Regions from separate parts of the Homo sapiens genome. Here region 1 is linked to region 2. The links are contacts of gene promoters, found by promoter capture Hi-C in blood cells and fetal thymus (Javierre and others, 2016). All regions are on one chromosome and are shown on one strand. The core of a region is centred on a gene start or on the middle of the fragment in contact, and the rest is flanking DNA. Distances in the headings are between cores, read along the strand shown. Region 1 overlaps PALD1 (phosphatase domain containing paladin 1). Region 2 holds the start of TBATA (thymus, brain and testes associated).

What was found. The method cuts DNA at HindIII sites, captures the fragments that hold promoters and counts their contacts. A CHiCAGO score of 5 or more calls a contact.
Region 1: a contact is called between a fragment that was not itself captured here and the fragment with the promoter of TBATA in region 2, in 1 of 17 cell types (total CD8 T cells). The highest score is 5.5, in total CD8 T cells.

What each region holds. Positions count from the first base shown.
Region 1 is chr10:70,539,045-70,541,744 of GRCh38, reverse strand. PALD1 (phosphatase domain containing paladin 1) reads right to left here. Exons shown (of 20, transcript NM_014431.3): 14 at 2,498-2,653; 15 at 1,983-2,165; 16 at 503-643; 17 at 211-282. Among named protein-coding and RNA genes, the nearest start is that of PALD1, 62 kb to the right of the region's middle. The HindIII fragment of the contact is 1,042 bases long and covers 770-1,811 here.
Region 2 is chr10:70,784,052-70,786,751 of GRCh38, reverse strand. TBATA (thymus, brain and testes associated) reads left to right here and starts at 1,375. Exons shown (of 11, transcript NM_001318241.2): 1 at 1,375-1,467; 2 at 1,979-2,105. The HindIII fragment of the contact is 8,030 bases long and covers 1-2,700 here.

The sequences.
Region 1 (2,700 bases), core at 41-2,540, 240 kb after region 2:
ATAGCCGGCCGTCTGCCAGGGCCTCAGAGCCAAGCTGTCCCATGCCTTGCTGGGCTCATCTATAAAATGGGAACAGGGAAGCACTGATATGATGAGGTGGCAGACGTGACTGCATTGGGACGTGCTTTGAGGACCCCTAGACCGGCAAGCAGGAGTCCTCCTCCTCCTCCCATCCCAAGGTGCCTCAGGGACCCCGCAGGGCATGCTCACCTGAAATTCACCCTTAGTGAACTTGGCATCAGGCACACTCACGAGCTCCTCCTCACCCACCTCGGGGAAGCCCTGAGGGAAGACAGCTGCTGAGACAGAAGCCCCCTCCCAACGCCAGGAGCCCCTTGCTGGGGAGGACTTGGGGGCTGCCCAAGACTGATGGAAGGGGCTCTGGGACCACACCCGGCTGTCTCTGCCCCTCACACCCTCCTGTGGAGCCAGTGTGCCTGGGACCTGAGTGTCTACCCTCCTCCAGGCAAATCTCTAATCTCACTTGAGAGGCCACACGTACTTGGATGTGCCAGAAGGCCAGGACAGCCACCACCATCGCAGTTGTGGTACGGCCCTGGCCGCTGAGGCAGCTGAACACGAAGCCAGTGCCTGGGTCCTTGGAGAGGGCGGCCCGCAGGGCCTCCAGCAGCTGGTCAAAGTCCTGGACGAGAAAAGCAAGGTCTGGGTCAGCGGGCGTCTCTTGGATGCACAAACCCCAACAGGGTCCCCATCCACATGGCAGCCCCAGCCACTGTCCTCGGGCCAGAAATTGTCAGGCTCCCAAGCTTGCACACACAAACAAAACTCACCGGGGTGCATGAGACCATGTGCGTGTAAACAGCTGCACCTGTGCAGTCGTAATCACCCTCACACCAAGCACCTGGACAGGATGTGTGAGCCAACACAGCATGCACCTGGGGCTCAAGGTACCCACCCTCCATCAGGCAGGACATGCACCTGTATGTCACCCCTGTGTACTGCGCCCCTGGGCTGCACATAGACTGCTGGCCCTGCCACCCACCTGAGCTGGACCCAGCCCTGGTCCCACCATGGACGGGGGCCTGACCTCAGAAGAGCCCTGCAGCACAAGGCCACCAGGAGGCAGCAGACCGCAGGCAGTGAGAGCCGCGAAGAGATGCGCCAGGAGGGGCTCAGGCAGGGTAACAGACCCCATTGCCAGTTACACAGCACACAGCGACCCACCTACAACACACGCACCACGCACACGGTGGCTCACCTACAACACACGCCAGACACACGCACCACACAGGGATCCACGTCCGGTAAACACACACACTATACAGACACCCACAGTCACAGACCTACAGATGCCACACACACACATTCCTAACGACCCCTCCACAAACCCTACCACACACCACACCACTCCCCTAAAGATGGTTTTCCACACACAGCCCCCAATACAGACAAGGGAGACATCACAAACTCCATAAAAAGACATGCACACACACACACATTCCACACACCACCCACACACTCCATACACAGTCCCCCAACTGAGACACACACACCACGGACACCCTGGACATGTTCACCCTCAACACACACACACACCTTATAACAAATACACACACACACCTGTAACAGAATACACACACACCCCGATAACACACACACACCTATAACACACACCCATAACACAATACACACACATACACCCTACAACATAATAAACACATGTACACACATCTTATAACACATATGCACATACGTAACAGAATACACACTCCAATACACACACACCTATAACAATACACACACATATACCCTATAACACATAATAAACACACGTACACACACACAAAGCTTGGAAGGAATGTGAATAAACCACTTGGGCCAAATCGGAAAACCTCGTGAGACCATTCCCGGGCCCCGTAGAGAAGCTGGGGTCGTTTCATTCTCCCAGAGCCCAGACCAGAGGGGAGACAGGGAGGCCTCCTGTCCCTCCCCAGAGGCCTCAGCCTGAGCAGCACCCTCACCTCCTCTCGGGGGGCACAGAAGTCCGGCATGGGGATGCGGTGGTAGGTGAGGCCAGGACAGGCCCTGCGGTGCTGGCTGAAGACCTCCTGCATGGTAAGGCAGGTCTGGAACCTGTAGGTCAGGGGGCCCTCCTTGCCTGGGGGAGGCTCGCTTAGATGGGCCTTCAGCTGGGCCTCCAGGGTCTGGGCAAGGGCAGGAGGGAGGACACAGGCCACTGGGGCAGGCTCTAGGCTAGCCCTGAAAGGCCACAGCCTGCCATGGCCAGGCCTGGCCCTGGCTTCCAGTCCCATCCCTGACCCCCCCAAGCCTCAGGGGTCACAGCCACCCCCCAAAGCCAAGCAGGTTAGCAGAGCACTTTAGTGGGAATCCTGAGTTGGCCACTCCCTGACACTGCTCCTCCCGGGGCCTCAGATTCTCCATCTGTCTGCGGGAGTGTGAGGCCTTCTGAAGACCCTCCCAGGCCACTCCCCAGAAGCCTCGGAGGCAGGGGTGCCTAGAGGGCAGGGGGCCTCACCTCCAGCTGGTCAGGAGCCACAGGGGGCCCAGGCCACCGCAGGCTGTAGGTGTGCCCGTCACACTCCAACACGGCCTCCTCCCGAAGGCTCACCCAGACAACCTTCCGCAGCCTCCTCTTGGCGTCCGTCAGGTAGGCCAGGATGCTCCCCAGGGCCTGGGCACAGGAGGGCCGGCAGTGAGTGCTCAGCCCTCCCTCCCCAA
Region 2 (2,700 bases), core at 126-2,625:
AGGCCAAGACCAGAGGACAGCCCTCAGGGGGCCACCAGAGTGGTATGAATCCCCACCCCTTAGCTGGGAGGGGCAGAACTTTTGAAGGACTTGGGTTTGCCTCTAGCTACCCACCTTCCTTTTCTTGCTCCCCAGAGAAAAGACACAGAGTCTGGAAGCCCCAGGGCACCAGTATGAAGCCAGGGGTGCTGAGAGCAAAGGCCCTGGGAAAAGCCCACCTCATCATTCTGAGGGACAGCACCCGGCACTGTCTGCAAGCCTTCCCATAGTTTACAGAGCCTGTCTGCACCCCTCCCGGGATCTGATTGAGTTACAGCCCTGTCGGCTAAGAACTATCCTTACCCCCATTTGACAGGTGTCCAAGTTGAGCCTCAGAGAAATAGTGAACTACCTAAGATAGTTCTCAGACAAAGGACTCATCCTACTACCTCCATCAAGTTACCAATAATAATGATGATTATTATCCTTTTTGAGCATCTCTTGTGTGCCAGACATACAACTAAAGGCTTCACTTCCATTAGCTTGTCTTCAGAACAACCACAGAAGTAGGTGAGGATATCCCATTTTATAGACCCAGAGAAGGCAATAATAGTAAGAAATTATACTTGGGGGCAGATACTGTTTGAAACGCTTTAATATATATCAACTCACTTAATATTCTCAAACATCCTGTGAGAATAAGTGCAGTATCATCATCTCCATTTTAGAGATATGGGAACTAAGGCTCAGAGAAGGCAGGTGCATTGTCTGAGGCCACACAACTAGGAAGTAGCAGAATAGGGACTCGAAGCAAGGATTCTTCCCACTATTTTGCATCTGTGGCAGTCCCGGTGACTTACCCAAGGTAACGTGTCTATGGGATGTTGAAATCTGATTAAAACACCTGTCCAAATGCAAGCCCAGAATCTTCCCACCCAGCTGTCATGCAGAGAGAGGGGCTGGGGTCCCTCTGGGTAATGCGGGCTGCCATCTTCTCTCCTTCCAAGACCCACCTCCCTGAGAATGGGTCCCCAGAACCAAGATGCATGGAAGCCGACCCCTGTGTGGTGGGGTCAGGCCAGGTGGGGCTGACGAAGCTGGGACGCAGCCCACCAACGTCCTCTGCCAGCGTTCCGCCTCCATCCGCTTCTCTCTGGCTAAAACCAGCCCCAGACTCTCCTTCTCTCCCTTGGCCCCCATTGAAAGTGTTGGATGGGAGGCAGCAGGGAAGTCAGGAGGGACAGAAGGTCCTTAGCCCTTGTCTACCCTTCCAGGAGGGGGAGATAGGCAGGGGATGTGGTAGAGGGGTGCTGGGCAGAGGTTCTGGAGTTGTGGGAACAGGGTAACCTAGCAACCACTGGGCTCAGTGTCACAAAGCAGGCAGACTTGCCCACAGAACCCACAGCCTTCCCCTCGATTTGTCCTCTTGCTCCTTCCTGCTAGGACAGCAGGGCTTCTCGTACACATGCTGTAGCGGGCACTGCCTTGGTGAGTCCAGGGACCTCTCGGGAGAGGAGATGGACCCTGGACAGCCCAGAAGGGCAGAGGTAGAAAGGGAAGTTTTGTGGCTGGATTGATGGGAGCCCTCAGACCCCTCTGCCTGGCTGGCTGGGGCCCCAGGGACAGAGAGCAGGGGCAGGGCAGGGCAGACTACACTGGGGTCCCACCTGTCCCGCTCTGGACAAGGCAGGCTTGGCCTACTAGAGTCCCTGTCAGCCTCTCTACAGCCGCTGTGGGTTATGACCCCCTGGTGGCTTATTAGATCAATTTAAATGGATCATATCTAACATTTAAGAAATAAAAACCAAAAATAGGGTAAAAATATCAGTGTGCATCATATGTAGTACGGATAAATATTGCTTCAGGATATTATTGTTTTAGTTTCACACACACACACAAACCCATATGTGAATTGGATCATGACATAAAGAATTTCTTACCGTCATCACAGCCAAACACATTTGCAAGTCTCTGTTCTAAAGAGTACTTTTTCCCATAGGCAGGAGGATTTGGGGCTTCCACATATCCTGTTCTCAAGATTGTAGCATCTCAGTACTCTAGAGCCCAGTACCTGACATCAAGGATGTCTGGAGCTTCCTTTTAAGGAAAGAAAAGATCAGCAAACTGTGAGTCAGACTGCCCGGGCTCTGGTTCCTTCTGTGTGACCTCAGCAAATCTCCCCTGCTTCCCTGATCTCAGACAACTCCAACCCATCCCACTACCTGATGAAGGCTGGCATTGGGAGATCTCTGGGGTCCCTTGCAGATTCTGTGACTCTGAGGGTTAATTCTCAGAATGCACTGATGTCCTGTCCCAACCCCATCCCTAGCACTTTGGCTAGATATATATATTCAGGTCCATAGATTTAATCATAATTCTTGGTTTTGACACCTATCATCTTTCATCTATGCCATTTAATTAGTTTATTTAATAATATAATAAACACAAGCAAATACACCACCCAAACCAAGAACAAGAACATCATCACTAACACATCTCCTTATATGCGCTTCTCCTGCACACTTCCCCTCCCCGCCTTCCCTCGGAAATAGCCACTATGTGAATTTCGTGCTTAGCATTTCCTTGTTTGATGCTGTTGTTGCTGTTTTATCGCATGTTCATGATCATTTTGCTTGCTTTTAAACTTTTATTTTTAGAAAGGATCTCAGGCTATGTGGTCCTCTGGAACTTGTGGTCCTCTGGAACACACATAAACTAAAC